Regions from separate parts of the Homo sapiens genome. Here all the other regions are linked to region 2. Evidence: promoter capture Hi-C in 16 types of primary human blood cells and fetal thymus (Javierre and others, 2016). All regions are on one chromosome and are shown on one strand. The core of a region is centred on a gene start or on the middle of the fragment in contact, and the rest is flanking DNA. Distances in the headings are between cores, read along the strand shown. Region 1 has its middle 130 kb from the start of CARMIL1. Region 2 holds the start of C6orf62 (chromosome 6 open reading frame 62). Region 3 overlaps LOC124901282 (a long non-coding RNA gene). Region 4 has its middle 120 kb from the start of RIPOR2. Region 5 has its middle 62 kb from the start of RIPOR2. Region 6 has its middle 170 kb from the start of CARMIL1. Region 7 overlaps GPLD1 (glycosylphosphatidylinositol specific phospholipase D1).

Region 1 (2,942 bases), core at 185-2,684, 430 kb before region 2:
TCTCTGTTTTAGTGTAGAATGCCACACTATTTTTCAATGAGATTGAACCTCACTACATTGTCATTAGTAACATATGAGAGTTTCCATACTCCTATTATCAACATTTAGTACTTGCAGTTGTTTTAATTTTAGTTGTTCTGGTAAGTATAGTGGTACTTCATTGTGGTTTTTATTTTCACTTCCCCATTGCTAGTGAGGCTGAGCTCTGTTTATACAGTTAGTCACAATTTGGATATTCTATTTTATGAAGTACCTATTCAAACCTTTTTGCCCATTTTTCTTATAGATTGTCTTTTTCTTATTGATTTATAGACATTCTTCTATATTCTGCATAGAAATCCTTTGTCATATTTATGTTGCAAATTTTCATTATGTGTCTTACCTTTTTACTCTTTTATTGTGTTTTGGGGTGTATATGTTCTTTTGGTGTAATCTAAAATTGCAATAATTTTCCTTTTGGGTAGAGCTTTTTGTGTTTTGTTGAAAAAAATCCACCGTGTCCCAAGATTATAAAAAATTTCTCCTAAATACCTTCCAAAAGCTTGATTGTTTATCTTTTAAATGTAAGTCTTTTAACTTGTCTGAAATTGATTTTTATCTATGGAATAAGGAAAGAGTCCAATCTATTTTTCCAATATGGGATCCCAGTTACCCCAGCAAGTTTAGTGGAAACATTTATCCTTTCCCTAGTGATCTACAGTGTCACTTATCAAGTGTTGGTGTATATGTGGACTTGTTTCCAGGCCTCTATCCTGTTCCCTTGATTATTTTATCTACCACTGAGCCAACACTATATGATCTTAATTATTATAGCTTACAATAAGTCTTGATATTTGCTAGGACAAATCCTCTCTCATCTCCCACCTTGTTCTTCTTGAAGAATGTTTTTTCTCTTTTTGGCCCTTGGCATATCTTAATAAATTTTAGAGTAAGTTTTTAAGCTGTAAAAAAAAAAAAAAAATTCTGGGGGTTTTATTGAGACTATAGTAAATCTACAGATAAATTTGGAGTAAATTGATTATCTTCATAATATTGAGCTTCCTATCTATGAACATAATATAACTCTTCGTTTATAGATACACTTAATATCTCTCAATAGAGTTTTATAATTTTCTCCAAAGAGATCATCTTTTGTTAAATGTATTTCTTGATATTTCATTTTTTATGCTATCTTTTAATTTTTATTTATTTATTTATTTTTTGAGATGGAGTTTCTCTCTTGTTGCCCAGGCTGGAGTGCAATGGCACGATCTCGGCTCACTGCAATCTCTGCCTCCCGGGTTCAAGCAATTCTCCTGCCTCAGCCTCCTGAGCAGCTGGGATTACAGGCATGTGCCACTACACCCGGCTAATCTTGTATTTTTTGTAGAGACGGGGTTTCACCATGTTGGCCAGGCTGGTCTCGAACTCCTGACCTCAGGTGATCCACCTCAGCCTTTTCTGCTATCTTAAATGATATATTTTTAAATTCAATTTTTGTATTTTTTATTGCTGATGTGAGAATAAATTGATTTCTTAAACTATTGATTATATATCTAACAGCTGTACTAAACTCTCAGAGTCTTATAATTTATATGTGGGTTCTTCTGAATGTTTATGTATACAGTCAGTTCTAAGTATCTTCAAAAATGATTTTTTTTCTTTCCACTCCTTATGTGTTTGACTTTTTTTTTTCTTGCCTTAATGTGCTGAGTAGCTTATTCAGGTCTCTTTACTTTTACCTAATGTCTTTTTCTGTTTCAGGGTTACATCTAAGATACCACATCACATTAGCTAAGGAGCTATCATGTCTCCTTAGGCTTCTCTTGGCTGTAATATTTACTTAGATTTTTCTTGTTTTGGATGACCTTGAGTTTCAAGGAGTACAGACCATGTATTTTATAGGTTACCTCTCTACTGGAATTTATCTGATTTTTTTTCTCATGGTTAGACTGGGATTATGGGTTTGCAGGAGGAAGACCACATCATATTAAAGTTACATTCTAACATAATTTATCACCGTTGATATTGACGGATTGTCACATTTCCTTACTGTTAAAGTTACTCTTTTTTTCATCATTTCCATACTGTACTCTTTGAAAGGAAGTCTCTATGAAAGGAAGTCTCTATGTGCAGCCCACATTTAAGAATTGATTATTTCAGATTTTCTACATAGGCAATCATGTTATCTGTGAACAAAAACAGTTTTACTTCTTTCTTCCCAATTTGTATACCACTTATTTATTTATTTGCCCTATTTTATTGTCTAGAACTTTCAATGCAATGTAGAAAAGCAGTGGTGAGAGACGACATCCTTGCCTTGTCCTTATCTTAGTAAGAAAGCTTCTACTTTCTCATTTTTTGTAGATGTTTTAATTAATTAATTAATTAATTTATTTATTTATTTAAGATACAGGGTCTTGCTCTGTCTCCCAGGCTGGAGTCCAGTGGTGTGATCATAGGTCACCCCAGCTTTGAACTGGGGGCTCAAGTGATACTTACATATTGGCCTACCAAGTAGCTAGGGCTATAGATGCATACTGCCATGCCTGGCTAATTTTTTTTTTTTTTTTTTGAGATGGAGTCTCACTCTGTCACCCAGGCTGAAGTGCAGTGCCATGAGCTCAGCTCACTGCAACCTCCGCCTCCTGGGTTCAAGCAGTTCTCCTATTTCAGCCTCCCAAGTAGCTGGGATTACAGGCGTAGGCCACCATGCCTGGCTAATTGTTGTATTTTAGTAGAGACGGGGTTTCACCATGTTGGCCAGGCTGGTCTTGAACTCCTGACCTCAGGCGATCCACCTGCCTCAGCCTCCCAAAGTGCTGGGATTACAGGCATAAGCCACCGCACCTGGCGCTTTTTTATTTTTATTTTTTAGCAATGGGGTTTTGCTATGTTGACCAGGCTGGTCTTAACCTCCTGGCCTCAAGTAATCCTTCTGTGTTGACCCCCAAAAACACTTA
Region 2 (3,055 bases), core at 221-2,720:
TTATTTTGGGGGGTTACTTTGCTGACCCTTAGCGCAGGGCTTCCTTTCCCTTCCCCCTCCGCCGCCAGTACCAATCCAACTCCCCATCTTTCTCTTTGTTTTTCCTCTTTTTCTTTTTCTCTCCCTGTTGCCGCTGTCTCCGCGTCCTTCCCCTCCGTTGCCGCCCAGGGCGCCGAGCCAGACTATGGGTCCCAGGTGGGGGCTGAGCGGCGGCAGCAGCGCGGGCGGTCCAGTCACGGTGCGCACTGCAGCGGGGATGGAGGGGCTCAGTTGGCTGGTGGTTTTCTCTTGACATGGCTCCTGCCCGTGCTACCAGCAGCGCCCCCGCCGCCGCCGCCTCTTCCGCCGCCGCCACCGCTCCGCCCGCAGGCTGCGGCTAGAGGGCCCAAACCCCGCCCTAGAGTCGGTCCGTGAGTCCCGGGCTCCGCGGGGACAGGGAGGGGATTTCCCCGTCACCCACCCCGCCCTAGCTGCCTCAATTCCACCCCCTGCCCCTCGGGAAACAACTAACGACCCCACCCTAAACAATCCAAACTCTGGAAACATGGTCTGTTCAACGTGAGAGAGAGCTAATCCGGGAACTTAATTTTTTGGGGGGAGGGTGGGTGGGCTTACTTTAGAAGTAATATTAACACAATTATTTTCTTTTTTTCCCCCACTGAACCTTCCCATTTACCCTCTCCCGCCCACTCCACCCGGGCGGGAATTGTTTCCACGATGAAATGAGTGAAAACCTGAGTGATCCTGTGTCTCCCGTGGTGCGAGTGAGTCGCTGCCGCTGAAGGCAAGGGGTGGGGGTGGGACCTGCGGGGGTGGAAGGCAGGTGGTCTCCGGGCACCGCCTGGGATTTGGGAGAAGAACCCGCCACCTTTGCCTCGGCAATGCTCACAAGAAGATAAATCGCACTCCCCACCATTTTGAACGGGGGCAGATCCACAGGGAAGTCTCCCTTGGGGAATGTAGGACTAGTTGCAGGCTGGGGGTGTTGGGAACCCGGGCATTAATCAGGTCTAACCACAGAGCCGGAATAATTAATACCGTATTATATACCCCTTTTCCTTCTGCCGTCATGATTCTCCTTGGCAGCAGCGTTAGCAGCCGCCTGAGGGTGAAAATGTGGGTGATGGGGAAGTTGGTAATGACTCCGCTGTTTTTTCTCATGGCTCCTTTGGGCCACAGCTGCCCGCCCCCGGTATACACTGTAGTTGATTGCAGGGAAACCCTGTACCTCTCCCTTTCCTTCTCTACCGATTTTGCACTTTTCTCTATGCTCACCACCAAGTGTAATCAATAACAAGCACTGACAATACATAGCAATAGTGAAATCTGAAATAACTAAGAATTAGGTACTACAGCCATGGAGCTGGCTGGGTAAAATCTAATTGGATATTTCAGTTTCATTCACCTACCCTGTTTTGGTGTTTGGTTTTGGTTTTGGTTTTGGTGAGTTTTTTTTTTTTTTTTTTTTGGAAAGCAAGGATCACACTTCCCCCTCCCTGTTCCTTAATCCCTTTTCTAAAAAGGGGGGAAAATCCGGATGGATTTTAGGGATTGGTCTGGTGTCAGCTGTGTTTTATTGCACACCTAAATCCTGATTATAGGCTTTTCATTTCTCCGCAAAGCCTTTATTTTGGCAGTTAAGCCAAATGTGTTTTCCAGAAAGTTAGTTATTTTCTCCTCTTTCTTTCCTTTCTTTCCTCCCTTTTTCCCGTCTGACCCCAAACGTTATTGTCCAAACATGACTGGACAGCAGCTTTTGTTTCTTGACCCTGTAATATGACAGTCTGCTAATATTGACAGAAGGTGCAGTTTTTGGGTTATAGTCGTGATTTTCGCTAATCAATCATATTAGCAGGAAAAAAAATGACTTGTTTCTGTTGTACTTGAGTCTTAAGAAAAAGTGCCCATAGTTTAGTGACAATTTCCAAAGGCTTTAGTACCACCTGTATTTCAAAATGGGGGACCCAAACTCCCGGAAGAAACAAGCTCTGAACAGACTACGTGCTCAGCTTAGAAAGAAAAAAGAATCTCTAGCTGACCAGTTTGACTTCAAGATGTATATTGCCTTTGTATTCAAGGAGAAGGTAATTTAAAGTTCTTAATGGTGAATTAGCACAAGTAATTTTTGTAAGTGTATATTATTTGTTACTCTTAAATTATTATGAATATTAGGTTAAAGAGTGGTTGAAAAAAAGTCTGCTTTGTATGCTCTGTTTTTTCACCCTTAGGGGTGATTCTGTGAATTGAGCAGTTGCAGCATGCGAAAAGACCCTTGAGCGTTCTTTGGTTTGGAAATAAATTTGAGTCTGAAGCTTAGTAGTAGTATACACTGAGTTGACATGGGGTGGGCAAGATTACAAAATTTTATATGGAGTTAACATGGGAAACCTTATGATGGAATTTAAAGATTATCTAATGTAGAGTATAAATAAGATGGTTGAAAGTGTGAAATTGTAATCAGACTGTTTATATGCTAAAGTTTATCCTGTTTCTTAAACTGCGTAATGTAGGTAACCTTTTCTCTTACATTTAATGAAGTAGAATACACCTTTTAGGAGCAATTAAATACTGAAATGGTTAATTTGTGTTTAGAAGTGTGATTTTCTTTTTTACTTAGAGTTCATTTTGCCTTGTATAGAAGTACAGTTTTTAAAAACTCAAAATGACCTAGAGGAAGTTTCATTTTTAGGGGCGGTGGAGGTCTTAATCAGAATTAGTTCCGCAGTTAAATAGCAAACAGTAAGTTGTGAGTAGTCAAGGATGGGATGATAAGAGCAGTATTTTTTGCAACTTAAAATGAACATTTTCTTAAATTATCAGCAAGGCTTATTTGACCAAAGATGAGGTTATGAATGTAAGGAAGTGCTACTTGGATTTTGGTGCTTAAATTGTTAGCTAATTTCAGATCAGAAATACAATCTTAGTGTGGTATCTATTAAGTATCTGGAAGTTTTCCAGGTTTCCCCCTACTGTTTAACTCTTATTATTTTTGTTGCTGAGACAGGCCTCACTGTATTGCCCAGGCTAGTCTTGAACTCCTGGGCTAAAGTGATCC
Region 3 (3,068 bases), core at 272-2,771, 410 kb before region 2:
AGAAAAAAAAAAAAATTAAAGACATTTCTAAGTGTCTAAGCCACATTCTTCCTTAAAAACCCAAGAGTAACCTCTGTTGCAATAACTATTTTAGTCAAAAAAAAAAAAAGTAACACAATACAAAAGTAAGCTGTTCGAGAACTGAGACAAACTTGTCTGTTTACATTCTTGAAAAAATTTGTTTTCCCTGGAAAGGGAGTCTGGTGCCTTCTCCATTTTCTTTAAGGAACCCCAGGCTATTATAAACTATTTTAGGTCCTCCATGCAGCAGAGGGTGCAAGAGAAAGGAGAGATAGTAGAAGTAAATGAAGAAAACAGAATTCTGTCAACTGAAAAGAAAAAAACTTTTGCTCAAAAAAAAAAAAAAAAAAAGACAAGGTCCCAGGAGAAAAACAAAAACATGAAGTCCTTTTAAATACAAACACACACATATGCGTGCGCGCGTGCGCACACACGCACGCATCTTGGATGTTAGGTTTTAATTAAGCTGACTTTTAACCATTGAGCTCCTTAAAAAAAAACTTTTAAAATCTCATTACCATATTTCAGCTAGGACAAATTGCTGCTATTTCAGAAGTACAGCCATTGCTCTTTCAGTTTGGCCTGGCTAACAAAAAGGTGGCCTTGTTATGTAAATGAAGACCCTTAGAATAAAAAATTTTTCTTTTTGTTTTTTTTTTTTTTCCTTTTTCTGGCCATTTTTTCCCCTCCACCCCATACCACGTGTGTGCGTGAGTGTGTGTGTGTGTGTGTGTGTGTGTGTGAGAATTTAGCCACTTCAGAGGCCTTGTTCCCCATAATTTGGAATTTCCTTTGGATTTGATCAAGTTGGATAGAGTTGATCAAACCCAATGGGAAAAAGTCCAAAACAACAGTGAAAACAGGAATGAACAACAACAACAACAAAAACAGTTAAGCAAAACAATCACACAACTTATATCATTACTGAGTACTCTAATAGTAAGGAGAAATTAAGACCAGCTGGTTGTTAATCTTAACTTTAGCCAAGACAAACCCCAATTCAGTTACTTAGCTAGGGATGGGTCTCAGGGTGTAGACTGCTCTCTACCATACTAGAAGCAGAGAGAAAAAAAACTCATCTTCCCTGTTGGAAGTGAGCTCAAACTCCATAAAAGAGTTACCTGTCTTCCATAGCCATGGAAACAGGAAATCTTCCCTTCCTTTTTGGAAGCAAGTAAAAGTTTTTTTGGAATTTTACTTGCTTTTTTTTTTTTTTCCAGCAAAATAAACTTTAGATCTCTACCACATTTGGGGACATCAGGGATTCTCTGGAGGGGGTGCTCTCAGGCCTCAGCAAATTGTCCTATTGGTTTGAGCCATAAAGTTAGCTCATGCTGGTACCAAGCATAGATTTGTCAAAGGTCAGGGGCATCTCCACTCAGAATCCCTTCATGGTTACCAAAATGTGAACCCTGAAAATCTGAGACAGGTCTCAGTTAATTTAGAAAGTTTAGTTTGCCAAGGTTGAGGACATTTGGCCATGACACAACCTCAGGAGGCCCTGATGATATATGCCCAAGGTGGTGAGAGCACAGTTTGGTTTTATACATTTTAGGGAGACAAGAGACATCAATTAACATATGTAAGATGAACATTGGTTCGGTTTGGAAAAGCAGGACAACTTGAAGCAGGGAGGGGGCTTCCAGGTCATAGGTAGATAAGAGATAATTGGTTGCATTCTTTTGAGTTTCTAATTAGCCTTTCCAAGGGAGGCAATCAGATATGCATTTATCTCAGTGTGAGCAGAGGGGTGACTTTGAATAGAATGTGAGGCAGGTTTACCCTAAGCAGTTCCCAGCTTGACTTTCCCTTTTAGCTTAGCGATTTGGGGGGCCCAAGATATTTTCCTTTCACACCAGTATTGCACCTGTAGCTTGCTTGGCTCCTCAGATAGGGCTGCCAGCTTGACCAATAAAAATACAGGATGCCCAGTTAAATGTGCATTTCAGATTTAAAAAAACTAATGTATTTTTAGTATAAATATGTCCAAAGTAGTTAATGGGACACCCTTTTAGCTGGCAACTCTGCTCTAGGAGAACCTCTAAGTAATTCCCTGATGGCCCATTTTGATGTTCTTCCATCTTCTGGGTGGATTCAAGTCAGTGAAGCCTCAGACATAGTTCTGTCACTGGTAAACTTCCGCCAGCACTTCAAGGTGTTGGAGTTTTCTCTTCCAACTATTACAGCTTTGGGACTCTGTCTCTGGGTTTCCTCTCCTAGTTTTTTAACTTAGCGGGCCATTTCACAGAGTGCCACTTAGCCAGCCATTTAAGGAGGCCTTAAAGTTTACTGATTAAGAGCATCATCTCTCCTTATAGACTACCTGGTTTAGAAGCCTGATTCCACGACTTACTAGCTAGGTCATAACCCTCGACAGGTTTCTTAGCCTTTCTGGACCTCGGTCTTCTCATTTCTAAAATGAGGATGAAAATATTACCTACTTTGTCAGGTTGCTGAGAGGATTAAGTGATGCCAAACACATAAAACTTAAAAGAATGCCATATGGTGGTATATGGCAAGCACCTCAAAAAAGTGAATTATAGTTACTATTTCTCTGCAATGAGCTTCTTGTGTAGCTTATACAGAGGGACTTTTTTACAGGAACTCAGATTGTTTTTGTATCTAATATGCTCATCTAAGTATAGTGATTGCTTTCCCACAGACTAGCCTTTCTCTTCTTCATTCAAAGCCTTACAGGTGATTGACCTGTTCTCTTGACACATTAGTCCTCCCCTCTTAGCTCTCCTGCCCATGAGGAAGCAGGTTCTGCCAGCTTTATTCCCAGATGCAGCTCACCAAGCATTTGCACGTTGAGACTGCATTTCTGTGTTAACTTATGCTCTGTATTCTCCCATCCACTTCTCTGAGTTCAGTAAATTATAGTTGGATTCTCTTCGTAGCTATTTATCTGAAGAAACTGTCTTTTCTAGTTTCTAGGTTCCAGCCAAGAACAGAGACCTACCTGTTCTACCCACCATTATTCAGCCATTTTTCTTCTCAACACAACCAAGATCAACAAATCCTATAAGCCATGATTCTCATCTTTA
Region 4 (3,297 bases), core at 793-3,292, 340 kb before region 2:
TGACTTTTCTCACTCGCTCCTTCCAAGACTCACATCACTGCATCTGCTTAGCAGTGCCTAAGTCACATGAGGAGCTTGAGCTGCAAGTGAGTGTGGAGAATGAGTTTCCCCTACTACAGGGCAGGAAGACGCACGAGAAGAGGGAATGGAATTGGGCAAGCCAGTCTGTAGTTCTGCTTCACCATCTTGAGATGAATCTATGGCATTAGATATAGAAAAGAAGCATGGGAAAATTGGAAAGCACTGTAAGATATAAACATGGGAATTTGGCAATGTTCATCCAATGCTATCCAGGAGAGATGTCCCAGTGAGACAAATGTGCAGTCCTCTCCACAAGTAAGCCCTAAAAAGAGGAGAAGGAAACTTTGGGCCATTATAACTTGATGTAGAGTGATCAATTGTCCCAGTTTGCCTAGGACTGAGGGGTTTCCTGGAATGACTAGGAAAGTCTTGGGCAGACCAGGACAAACTGGTTACCCTAAGTCAATGACAAGAACCATCAGCATCCAACAACTAGACTTGGTTCAGATTCCACTCTCACTAAGCACATTTTGGATTGTGATTTGGACTTCCAGGTGTGTGGGAGATAATGCCTCAAAAACCTTTAGCACAAAGTCTGGTGTATAGTAAGCACTCAATAAATGCTTATATTTTTGTATTTTTAAAAGTTTGTTTCATTTTAAAATACGTTGGCCAGTTAACTGAAATGTTTAATTTTTCTTGGTAGTTTTTCTTCCTTTTTTACACGCCAGCATATTTTCTTTCGGATGTGGGTGTACATTGTTCTGTTGAGATTTTGCTTAGTTCGCGAGGTAGTTCCTGGTGATAGGTCTTGTCTTGGTGCCTTGGGTCGTAGGCACACTCTGGACCACACCTTAGAGTGTGAAGTCTCCATTAAGGCTTTCTCCCCTCTCTGAGGCTCTAAGTGGCAGCTACTGTTCTCTTCGGATATCACCTTACTTTGATCCATTTCCATGGCAACACCCTGTGGTATGAATGAGTATCTACCATACTTCCTGCTCAAGCCAGCTGTGGTGAAGGGAGGAAGCCTGAGAACTGTGGTCTCCTGAAGAGGAAGGGCACCCAAGTGGTGAAGGAGGCCCACGATGCCAAGGCTAGCTTCTCTTTCTTTACTGCAACTAGAAAGGCTGTGCTTCCTCCAGCAGTGGCCTCCCCTCAGGCCTGCCTTTGGGAACAGGCTGCACCCTCTGTTCCCAACCTTCCCTCCTTCTTTCATCCCATTCATAACGGTATGTCGTCTTCCCTCACAGCCTTTGCTCTTGTGTGTCTTTGGCCAAGAATGCCCTTCTCTTCACTCCTCTCCACTCCTGGATTCATTCCCCATCTTTCAAAGTATCGCTCAAACGCCACCTCCTCCCCAAACCTGCCTTGAGTTTCCTCCTCCTGTCAGAATTGGTTCTCCATCTTCTGGGTGCCTAAATGACTTACTGCTGCTGCTCTGACACCAATCACATTGTATCTGGTAGTATAGTGACAAGTTGTCTCTCCGTATCTGTGGGGAATCAGTTCTAGACCCCTGAGGACACCAAAATCCTCAGATGCTCAATCCCTGATATAAACTAGTGTAGTATTTGCATGTAACCTGCGCACAACCTACCATATACTTTAAATATCTCTTGATTGCTAATAATACCTAATACATATAAATGCTGTGTCCTTATACTGTATTGCTTTTCAATTTGTATTATTTTTATTGTGGTTTTATTATTTTTTATTTTTTCAAACCTTTTTTTTTTTTTTTTTTTTTGAGACGGAGTCTCACTCTTCCGCCCAGCCGGACTGCAGTGGTGCGATCTCGGCTCACTGCAAGCTCCGCCTCCCGGGTTCATGCCTTTCTCCTGCCTCAGCCTCCCGAGTAGCTGGGACTACAGGCGCCCGCCACCGCGCTCAGCTAATTTTTTGTATTTTTAGTAGAGATGGGGTTTCACCGTATTAGCCAGGATGGTCTCGATTTCCTGACCTCATTATCCGCCCACCTCGGCCTCCCAAAGTGCTGGGATTACAGGCGTGAGCCACCACGCCCAGCCTTTTCAAATATTTTTAACTGAGGTTGGTTGAATCCTAGTATGCAGAAGTCACAGATATGGAGGGCCACCTGTATTGTGTATCTTCTACATTCTCCATTGGATTTTAAGCTCCCAGGATAAAGGGTATCATTCATCTTTGTATGCCCAGTGCCTACTACATTTTTAAAAAGTGAATTGAATTAACCTCATAAGGAAGAAACCTTTAGACTTCTTGGACAATTTTCCTCAAGTAGGCTGGACACTCTCATGAGTCAAGGTGCCTTGGCAGAGATGTCAAGGAGAAAAGACCCCTTATTGTTCCTTTCTTTATCTCCCTTCAATTGCTTCCTCCTCCATCCTAAAAATGTATAAGAATAGATGTTACTCTAATCAGATGTCCCTTTGGGAACAAGCTGCATGAAACTTTTGAGAATCTCTGGTTTCATAGCACAAGTTTTAAAAGATGGTCTTTGTTATGCTGGTTGCTCACACATAAAATACAATGTTTAAAACATTGGTGAAAAACACATATATTTTATAACTGGGAAGTCTGGTTTGCAATGGTTTGTGAATATGGAAAGAGCCCTGAGCTATGAGTCAGAACTATTAATAATGCCTTAGGAACTAACTAGCTTTGTGGCTGTTGACAAGACATTTCTCCTCCTGAGGCTCTGTTCCCTCTACCATGAAACGAAGGTATGGGGCAGTGATGTCTGAGGTCTCATTGGCTCTGAAGTTCTGGGAGATTCTGATTTCATGGTTTACTTATAGGTAAAAAGAAGAGAAGCTGCCTTCGGGTGGTGGAGTCTTTAACCCACTTCTCTTCTGCCGAGACTGAAAAGGATCCAAATCTCATGGCATTAAGGTCAAAGAAAAAGTGACTTTTTAAAACTAAGTATAATAAGGAAATATTTCTCCTCTACATCTAGATATTTCTCCAGAGGGAGCTCACCACAAAAGTTAAACAGATCACTACTTTAAAAATGTTTTTCTGTTTAAATCAGGGCTGTTCCGTTGGGGCTGATTTAATCAAGAGAGAAAACAGACCTCTCTCTTGTCTCTACTCTGACTCATAAAGGCAACTCTGCTCCACTGATGTCAATTGGTCACTATTTGCATAATAAGTTATTCTAAAAGTTAAAATATCAGGCCCTTAATCACAGAAGAAAGGAAGACTTTTCAGTGAGGCCTTCCAGTGATTGCAGATTTAGAGGGCTCTTGGGACAGCCACTGGGTGGCTAAATTAGTAAGTTGACACCTAGTTACTGTT
Region 5 (3,291 bases), core at 402-2,901, 280 kb before region 2:
AAAAGATGAAGGGTGGCAAGGAATTGGGCAAGGCATACTTGAAGCTAAAAATCTCAGTCAGCTGGCTGACCTTCTCTCACCACCACCTGATACTGATGGGCTCAGAGAGGTCCCCAAACATGGTTGAGACCTCGACTCCAGCTGGTGTCCAGGCTCTTGACACTGTTGCAAGAAGGAATTCAAGGATGAGTCAGGGCTGGGCGCGGTAGCTCATGCCTGTAATCCCAGCACTTTGGGAGGCTGAGGCAGGTGGATCAGGAGGCCAGGAGATCAAGACCATCCAGGCTAACACAGTGAAACCCTGTCTCTACTAAAAATACAAAAAAATTAGCCAGGCGTGGTGGTGGGCGCCTGTAGTCCCAGCTACTTGGGAGGCTGAGGCAGGAGAATGGCGTGAACCCGGGAGGTGGAGCTTGCAGTGAGCCGAGATCATGCCACTGTGCTCCAACCTGGGGAACAGAGCGAGACTCTGTCTCAAAAAAAAAAAAAAAGGATGAGTCAGAAAATAGTGAAAGTACAGAGATTTGTTGCAGAGGGAAAATTACACACTCAAGAGAAGGGAATGTGGTTGTAGACAAGAGTCATGCACAAGGGGGTTTGGGGTTGCTACCTTCATGGGTTTCTTTAACCAAAGCAAGGGGTGGAATATTCACGAAAATTCCTGGGAAAAGGTGGAGATTTCTCAGAATTGTCATGCCGCCCACTTTTCCAGCAAGTATAGATGTTCTTGGAACTGTCATGGCACTGGCAGGTGTGTGATTTGTATGTTAATGAGCATATAATAAGGTCCTAGGTGAAACCTAAGTAGGATCCAGCTCCATGTTGGGTCCAGTCAGTCTCAGTCAGCTTGGTCCACACCTGGTTTTTCAGGGTCTTATCAGCCCATAGCCTCTAGTTATGTGAAACTGCTGCCTGGAATTTTTATTCTCCTGTAACCACCCTGTAAGTTTCCTGTCTCACATCCAAATCAACATCCCCAAGATTCCCTATCAGCCTTCATTTGATCTCCCAGATCAATTAGGAGGAAGGAACACTCTGATTCAGTGCTATGTGGAGTCACCCTGGAGCCTGAGGCAAAAGGAATATGCATCCCTATAGTGTACATTCACCCAAAAATGTTCCTATAGTTTGTGGAAGAAGTCAATACAAGCTCTACAATAAAAAAAAAAAAATGACTGCATATAAAGTTCCACATTGTCCAATCTGTTCCCGTGCCATTGTCAACTCTCATTGACAAGGTCTGTCCTGGCCAACCTTGGGCCGATTGGAATTCCTGTTCCACAATAACCCAGGGTCATAAAACAAATAACAGCAGCCTGTCTTCACCTAATTTTTTGATATTTTGTTTATTGTAGATTTTTTTTGCCCATAGTCTATAGATGAGAAATATATAGGATCCAGGTGGTAAAAAATCATGTGAAAAATGGTAAGCAGTTTGCATTTTGTATAGGGGCAATGGAGAGACGTTGAAAGGCTTTGAACATGGAAACAAAGGAATCAGATTTTCTGGGTTAGAAATATCATTCTAGTTGCAGATTTGAGGGTAGATTTGGGATGCTAGATTTTTTGATAGAAACATCTGTATTTATAGTCACCAAAAATATCCCTTGGGGGATTGCTATTAACTTTATAAAAATGGTTTGCAATATAAAATCCTTGTAAATGAGAAATACATTTGTAAATATGTACTGATTTGTACATATGTCTGATGGTAAATTTGATTATTCACAACTTTTCAAAAACACACTCCTGTGTTTTTGCAAGTGATCATTTTGTTGAGATTCTCAAAGAATTACTTGAGCAAGCTGATGAACACATCATGGAGTATAAATTGCAGAGGAGACCGTTTTCTATCCAAAACACAAGAAAACAAACAGATTGAGGAAGTTAAGGGGAAAAGGAGAAAAAGAGGGGCTTGGCAGTTTAAGAGTGTGGGCTAATTTACATCTGAAAATCCTCTCTCATGCTGTTCTCTGCACCTGGAATACCCTCCCCACCGCCTATTCAATTTCAAGGCCCAAATCAAGCTCTATTCCTAAGACTTTTTTGATTGCTCCAGTGCATCCAATCTCCTTTTCCCCTTTAGTTAGTGGCCCTGAAACCTAAGTGTGAGAATCACCCAAAGGACTTACCGAAGCAAAGTTTTGGTTTCAGTAGGTCTGGAGTGGGGACTGAGGATGTATTTCCAACAAGTTCCCAGATGATGCTGATGCTGCTCACGGGCCACACTTCGGGAATCACTGCTTTAAACCAGTGCGTGTTTCTCAGACTTTAATGTGCATACAGATCACCTGGGGGTCTTGCAAAGGATGCTACACTGAGCTCTATATCAATGGTTTTCAACAAAGGATGACTTTACTCCCAGGGAACATTTGGACATGTTGGACATTTTTGGTTGTTATATACTGTGGCAGTAGGAAGTGAGGAGTGCTTTTGCTTGTTACTGGCATCTAGTGGGTAGGGGCCAGAGATGCTTCAAAACATCCTACAATGCCAAGGACAGCCTCCCACAATCAAGAATTATCTAACCCAAAATACCACTGTTGGGAAACCTTGATTTAAACCATACAATTTAGATACCATCACCATTTGCTATTGCTCATGGAGGCTGTAAGGACTGCAGTTTCCTAAAAGCAAGCACTATGTCTAATATAGAAATTCTGAGGCTCTTCCTCTTTCTGGGCCAAATACTACCTTCCCACCCCACCTCCCCTCCAAATGCCTAACGCAGTGTTTACTACATAGTGAGCATACAGGAAAAGGTTTTTTAAATTAACTACCTAGGAACACTCAAACTAGTGGTTCTCAGGCTTAACTGTATATTAGAATCACCTGGGGAGTTTTTTAAAACACAAATGCCTGCATCCCACCAACAGAGATTCTGATTTCATTGTTGTGTGCTATGGCCTGCATGTTGGGAGTTTTAAAAGCTCTGCAGGTGAGCCCAATGAGCAGACAAGGTTGAAAATCATTGGACTCCATCCTCGCTAGTTAGTAATTCACATTTGAAACTGTGAGATTGAGAAGGAACACTTGTAGCCGCTTCAGCGTATGTATGATTGCCCCTAAGGAAAACCCATTCCAAAACAAGTTAGACCCATAAAATGTCATTAATTTCCAAGTAGTTGTTCTGTACCGCCTGTGAGTTGTCCATTATGCTATGTGCTAGGAATACAAAATTGAAAAGTTTAAGGGCTCTGCCTTCTAGGGACCTCCTAGTGCAATGGAGAAGTTAACTATGAACAATACAGTAAGTGCTATAATAGAAGCCTGTATAAAGTGCCTGAGTCA
Region 6 (3,119 bases), core at 367-2,866, 390 kb before region 2:
TAATATGTTCATTAAAGTTAGAAACTTTCTTCTTATAGAAGAAGCACTAGGTTTAGAATCAGAAAACCCAAATTTGAATACCAGTTTACTGTGTGTTGTATATTTCTGAATGTTTCCTCATCTACAAAAACAAAAAATTCATAGCTTTTTGATAAGAATTGACTAACATAGTATGTAAAACTGCCCCAGCACCAAGTTTGAAATATAATAGATGTGTAATCATTTGTTTGTTTATTCAACTTTCTACCACACCCTACAGTGGTATAATAACTCTGTTATATAATGAATGCTCAATAAATAAAAGCCGACTTAATATGTCTAGATAGTCAAAAATACTTGGATGATTGTTGTGCACTGAGTTGGGATTACTACAAATGTTGGATGTAGTTCCTCAACACTAAATTTTACTGTCTTGCCTAGCTGGTAATTCTGTCCCTCCTTAAGGATGAATAATATAGTCTGTTAAAGTGTGGCTTTAATATACAAAATATATTATTTATCCTTAAAAAGGGACAGAATCTTTGAAGGTTGAAAAACCAACCCCCAAAATGGTCCGAGACATGGGCTTTTGTCCTGTACTATGTCCCAGTCCTCTCTCTTACTGAGAGCTACTGCTTGAAGCATGCAAAGAAATGAGGATCTCCGTGATCTTCATTTCTTTCCTCTACAGCATGACTTTTTCTCGTCTGTGCCTACTGTTAGAACTACCCCTCCTTCAAGCAGCATCACTGTGGAAAATGGAACTTACCTACCTGGTTGATGTCCACACCATGAGCATTTGATATGTTCTAACAACAAAGATGAATCCCCTCAGAATCTCCCGTCACTTTCACAGTCATCCTTGAACAGAAACTTTTCTCTGGACTCTGGTGAGAGTCCAGTTTTTCAATTCCTCACTTCTCTGTCAATATGTTGGTATAAGGAACAAACTGTCTGTCATACTAGATGACACTATTTTTTTCTCTTTTCAACCTTTCCATCTGTCTTATCCTAGTTACCCCACACTGAAAAAGCTTGCTGGGAGAAGACCAGATATTCCCATTTATGTTGGAAACACAGAAAGGCCTGTATTTTGGAATCTGAATCAGAGCGGTGTCCAGTTGACTAATATCAATGTCGTGCCATTTGGAATATGGCAGCAGGTCAGAAATCTGCTTTCTTTCCATGCTTTCCAGTTATGCTTTCTGTGATGAATGTTAGGTGAGATAGTCACCGTAAGATTAAGGAAAAAATGGGTCAATGTGGTATGTCCCTGATACTGCATAAACACAACCTCTATTTGTGATTCAAATGTTAGGCAGACTGTCCTGGGCAAAGATGATTTTCTTTCTATTAACCCATACTATTATAGTACAACTCTACAGAACAGGTAATAAATCTAGTTCTGAATAAGGAAATTTCTTCAAATGTGAGGTTCAATTGACCAGTCTTTCCAGAACAGGTGATTACCTTCTCAAATACTGAATTAAAAACCAAACTGAAATTCACAGTTGTTGGTTTTGTTGTTAAATTCCAGGTGGACAAAAATCTTCGATTCATGATCTTGATGGACGGTGTTCATCCTGAGATGGACACTTGCATTATTGTGGAGTACAAAGGTATGTTTTTATCCCCATTGATAACGAAAAATGGAAAACATTCTTAATAGGAAGGATGGTAATATCTATATGAAATTTCATCACATGTTCATCTTTTAGCTCCATTTTGAAAGAATATAGCGTGTTATATCCTTGTTCTAGAAATATGGAGCTATCTTTCAAATAATTTTTCCAGAAAACAAATTAGAAATAATGTCATCTAGATAGTGACAGGAGCAAAGATTTCTTTCATAAGGCAATAGATATTTTACATTCCACCTATAGTGATTTCTTCAAAACTACATTTATTAAATAAATGTCTTTTATTACTTTCACCTAGAAATATCATGTAATATAATCATGCACTGCTTTTCATATGAAAAGATGGCCTTACTGCCCCAACAATCATTTGAATATGAGCTTTGCATGTAATTTGCAAAAGGTACAGGGAAGTATGTTAATCCACTTTTTTCTGATCCTTTGGGCTCAACACCTGGAAAAAGTTGACAGAAGAAAGCAGTCTATCTATGAGCTAGAGTGGAATTAAGATAAAAGTCTTCATGAGACACCTAGTATCCACCAAGTCAAATGGGATGAATTTAGTCGCTTGAAAATTCAGAAAATATACTATTGAAAGCTTTAAGTTTTAAAATCTTACTGTTTGTTTTTCCTTTGATATAATCAATTCTTCTATAATCAAATAAGTTCAATTATACAGACTGTATACAGAAGTCCTTGTCTTGGAATTCAAACTATGGGTGTTCAAGATTTCACCTTGAATATCTATACCTCTTTGTTTCTCCACAGGTCATAAAATACTCAATATAGTAGACTGCACCAGACCCAATGGGGGAAGGCTGCCTATGAAGGTTGCTCTAATGATGAGTGATTTTGCTGGAGGAGCATCAGGCTTTCCAATGACTTTCAGTGGTGGAAAATTTACGGGTAATATTTTGTATGAAAGTGATACCAAGTATCACGCATGGCACATTGCTAAATGCTGTAAGAGTAAATACAAATGTAATTGAGACATGATCCCTCCCCACAAGAAGCATGCAATCTTATTGGGAAACCAGATTTGTAAGTTGCAGATTACCAACTAAGGTTTCTAGCTCAAAACATGATGGAGCATGAAGGAAATGTTGAGATCTGAGAGCACCTCAGGAGGAGCCAAGAAAGAGAATCATCTGGATTCACCATGTAGACCGTAGAGCAGAACAGGAAAGGCCTGAAGTGGGTCATCCAGGCTTAGGTGCTCTTGGAATATGGTTCCTAATGGGGTGTGTGCAGCCTCAATGTAGACACATCCCCTTGGCACTGTGGATGCTCATATCAGGGAGCAGTGTGCCCAGAAGAGAGTCCTCTAGTTGGGGACCTCTAGTGCACCCAGAGGAGGGTCCTCTGGTTGGGGGTCTTAGGCAGGAGCCCTTCTGCTCTGGGTCCAAGAGTGGGGTTGGGGTTGACATTGGGGAAGTGTGTATCCTCAACACTAGTATTGTAAGTGCTCAATACATGTCCACTTAATAAATTAATGTATCTGAT
Region 7 (3,029 bases), core at 400-2,899, 290 kb after region 2:
CAGCAGGCCCACAAGACCATCCAGTTTGGTGTATGATGACCAAGAGCCAAACGAGGTCAGACAGCAACTGCAGCAGAAGTCTCTGCTGGTGGAGTCAGGGAAGGGCCTGCAGAGATCATGGGCCCGGAGCTGCATCTGGAAAGATGACTAGACTCTGACAAAACAGAGTGAAGCCGAAGGCCAGGCAAATTTAGTAAATGAGTAATTCCATAAATTGGGAAAGAGAGGGAGAATAAAGTACCATTTGATGCTGTTTTCTTAAGTGTAGATTTTCCCTATTAATTGACACTGGGTATTAAGGGATAAGATAAGCACAGGGCTAAGCATAGTGTCTGACCCATGATACAACCTCCACAAATTTTAGCTATTATTATTATTTCTAGATTTCATCAGTAGTTTTCAAAATTAAATAAGAAACTGTCATATCCTGCTCTGACCAAAATACTGTCAGCCAGTTTGATCACCCGTACCTCATGTGCCAGCTTTGGTTCAGAATAACTTTTGTCAGTTTCCACAAATCAAATCCGACCTCGGAGTATGAAGATTTGCCACCACTGAAAATATTTAAAGACCAGGCATGGTGGCTCACATCTGTAATTTCAGCACTTTGGGAAGCCGAGGCGGGTGGATCACTTGAGGTCGGGAGTTCGAGACCAGCCTGGCCAACATGGTGAGAGCTCGTCTCTACTAAAAATACAAAAATTAGCCAGATGTGGTGGCACATGCCTGTAATCTCCGCTACTCGGGAGGCTGAGACATGAGAATCACTTGAAACTAGGAAGCAGAAGTTGCAGTGAGCTGAGATCACATCACTGCACTCCAGCCTGGGTGACAGGGCAAGACTCTGTTTCAAAAAAGAAGAAAATGTTTTAAAAACTTGCAGCAGGTTTTGAAGGCAATTCTGAAAGATGGGTCCTAAAATGTTTTAAGCAGCAGGGTAGGTGGGAGGTACGCTAAACACATTGACAAAGCCAGCTTCTAGGGGAAGTCCTTACTATTCAAGATATGTTTTCCACATTGTACCAGAACTAAGCATGCACTGCCCTACTTCTCCTTTATGATTTATGTGCCAGAATAGGGATTGGGGTGAGCATCCTTAGCTGCGGTTTTCAGAACTTATAGATGTGAGAAAGCGGTCTGTAAACAAAGGGAAAGTGGCATTTGAGTTCAAGCCAGGGGATCTGGCCAGTGTCTTATTCATCTTTATATTTCTAGAGCATAGCATGATGCCTGGACTACCATAGGAACTCAATAGATGTTATGAATGAGCCATGAATTCTGTCTTGTGTCCCTTACAGAACCAAGTCGTCATTGCTGCTGGAAGGAGTTCTTTGGGAGCCCGACTCTCCGGGGCACTTCACGTCTATAGCCTTGGCTCAGATTGAAGATTTCACTGCATTTCCCCACTCTGCCCACCTCTCTCATGCTGAATCACATCCATGGTGAGCATTTTGATGGACAAAGTGGCACATCCAGTGGAGCGGTGGTAGATCCTGATAGACATGGGGCTCCTGGGAGTAGAGAGACACACTAACAGCCACACCCTCTGGAAATCTGATACAGTAAATATATGACTGCACCAGAAATATGTGAAATAGCAGACATTCTGCTTACTCATGTCTCCTTCCACAGTTTACTTCCTCGCTCCCTTTGCATCTAAACCTTTCTTCTTTCCCAACTTATTGCCTGTAGTCAGACCTGCTGTACAACCTATTTCCTCTTCCTCTTGAATGTCTTTCCAATGGCTGGAAAGGTCCCTCTGTGGTTATCTGTTAGAACAGTCTCTGTACACAATTCCTCCTAAAAACATCCTTTTTTAAAAAAAGAATTGTTCAGCCATAAAGAAAGAACAAGATCATGCCCTTTGCAGGGACATGGATGGAGCTGGAGGCCATTATCCTTCATAAACTATTGCAGGAACAGAAAACCAAACACTCCATATTCTCACTTGTAAGTGGGAGCTAAATGAGAACACGTGGACACATAGAGGGAAACAACACACACTGGGGCCTATGAGAGGGCGGAAGGTGGGAGGAGGGAGAGATCAGGAAAAATAACTAATGGATACTTAGGGTGATGAAATAATCTGTGTAACAAACCCCCATGACACACCTTTATGTATGTAACAAACCAGCACTTCCTGCGCATGTACCCCTGAACTTAAAAGTTAAAAAAAAGTTGAACTTAAAAATAACAGATTGGCCCATGCCAATCAAAGTATAATAGAAAGCATAGTATACAGAAAAAAAAAAAAAAAAGAAACTGAGGGAGGAAAAATAGTACAGAGTAAAGCATGGGGGTGAGGGATAACCTCACATTCCAAATCACTTGTGACTTAGTCCTTTTTAACTTTTATTTTAGGTTCAGTGGTACATGTGAAGGTTTTATCTTTTCTGTTCCTCCCACCTTCCCCACTCAAGTAGACCCCAGTGTGTGTTGTTTTGTGTTCATAAGTTCTTTTAACTTAGCACCCACTTGTGAGAACATGCTATACTTGGTATTTGGTTTTCTGTTCCTGGTCGTGTGTTAGTTTGCTAAGGATGATAGTCCTTTTTTTTTTTTTTTTTTTTTGAGACGGAGTCTTGCTCTGTTGCCCAGGCTGGAGTGCAGTGATGTGATCTCAGCTCACTGCAACCTCCGCCTCCCAGGTTCAAGTGATTCTCCTGTCTCAGCCTCCCAGGCAGCTGGGACTACAGGTGCACAATACTACGCCCGGCTAATTTTTGTATTTTTAGTAGAGACAGGGTTTCACCATGTTGGCCAGGCTGGTCTCGAACTCCTGATCTCAGGTGATCCACCCACCTTGACCTCCCAAAGTGCTGGGATTACATGTGTGAGCCACAGGACCTGGCCGATAATCCTTTCTTAATGAGGATTAATACCTTTTCAATGTTTATATAGTGAAGGACAAATATAAAAACCAAGACTATCACCCTTCTGTGCCCTCCAATACTTTTGTAGAGTTGGCTGTTCTAACACCTAAAGAGCCTAGCGACACTGCTAGTTTTAAGCCATCTCATGAGGGACCT

What was found. The method cuts DNA at HindIII sites, captures the fragments that hold promoters and counts their contacts. A CHiCAGO score of 5 or more calls a contact.
Region 1: a contact is called between a fragment that was not itself captured here and the fragment with the promoter of C6orf62 in region 2, in 8 of 17 cell types (fetal thymus, neutrophils, total B cells and 5 more). The highest score is 7.9, in fetal thymus.
Region 3: a contact is called between a fragment that was not itself captured here and the fragment with the promoter of C6orf62 in region 2, in 1 of 17 cell types (neutrophils). The highest score is 5.1, in neutrophils.
Region 4: a contact is called between a fragment that was not itself captured here and the fragment with the promoter of C6orf62 in region 2, in 2 of 17 cell types (naive CD8 T cells and total CD8 T cells). The highest score is 5.9, in naive CD8 T cells.
Region 5: a fragment that was not itself captured here is called in contact with the fragment with the promoter of C6orf62 in region 2 in 11 of 17 cell types (neutrophils, naive CD8 T cells, non-activated CD4 T cells and 8 more); the score reaches 21.7 in neutrophils.
Region 6: a contact is called between a fragment that was not itself captured here and the fragment with the promoter of C6orf62 in region 2, in 2 of 17 cell types (activated CD4 T cells and naive CD8 T cells). The highest score is 5.5, in activated CD4 T cells.
Region 7: a fragment that was not itself captured here is called in contact with the fragment with the promoter of C6orf62 in region 2 in 7 of 17 cell types (total B cells, naive B cells, fetal thymus and 4 more); the score reaches 9.9 in total B cells.

Annotation. Positions count from the first base shown.
Region 1 is chr6:25,144,543-25,147,484 of GRCh38, reverse strand. No RefSeq gene overlaps it. Among named protein-coding and RNA genes, the nearest start is that of CARMIL1, 130 kb to the left of the region's middle. The HindIII fragment of the contact is 1,781 bases long and covers 544-2,324 here.
Region 2 is chr6:24,717,569-24,720,623 of GRCh38, reverse strand. C6orf62 (chromosome 6 open reading frame 62) reads left to right here and starts at 1,470. Exons shown (of 5, transcript NM_030939.5): 1 at 1,470-2,084. The coding sequence starts at 1,956. RefSeq lists a silencer at 257-426 and an enhancer at 1-789. The HindIII fragment of the contact is 3,349 bases long and covers 1-2,314 here.
Region 3 is chr6:25,127,741-25,130,808 of GRCh38, reverse strand. All of the region lies in intron 2 of LOC124901282 (a long non-coding RNA gene), which reads right to left. It also overlaps the pseudogene CMAHP. Among named protein-coding and RNA genes, the nearest start is that of CARMIL1, 150 kb to the left of the region's middle. The HindIII fragment of the contact is 6,422 bases long and covers 1-3,068 here.
Region 4 is chr6:25,054,051-25,057,347 of GRCh38, reverse strand. No RefSeq gene overlaps it. Among named protein-coding and RNA genes, the nearest start is that of RIPOR2, 120 kb to the right of the region's middle. RefSeq lists enhancers at 763-822, 963-1,092, 3,073-3,242. The HindIII fragment of the contact is 4,254 bases long and covers 1-3,297 here.
Region 5 is chr6:24,996,759-25,000,049 of GRCh38, reverse strand. It overlaps a transcript of RIPOR2 not described here. Among named protein-coding and RNA genes, the nearest start is that of RIPOR2, 62 kb to the right of the region's middle. The HindIII fragment of the contact is 8,245 bases long and covers 1-3,291 here.
Region 6 is chr6:25,107,979-25,111,097 of GRCh38, reverse strand. It overlaps the pseudogene CMAHP. Among named protein-coding and RNA genes, the nearest start is that of CARMIL1, 170 kb to the left of the region's middle. The HindIII fragment of the contact is 1,201 bases long and covers 1,016-2,216 here.
Region 7 is chr6:24,427,388-24,430,416 of GRCh38, reverse strand. GPLD1 (glycosylphosphatidylinositol specific phospholipase D1) reads left to right here. Exons shown (of 25, transcript NM_001503.4): 25 at 1,299-3,029. The coding sequence ends at 1,385. Among named protein-coding and RNA genes, the nearest start is that of MRS2, 26 kb to the right of the region's middle. The HindIII fragment of the contact is 4,577 bases long and covers 1-3,029 here.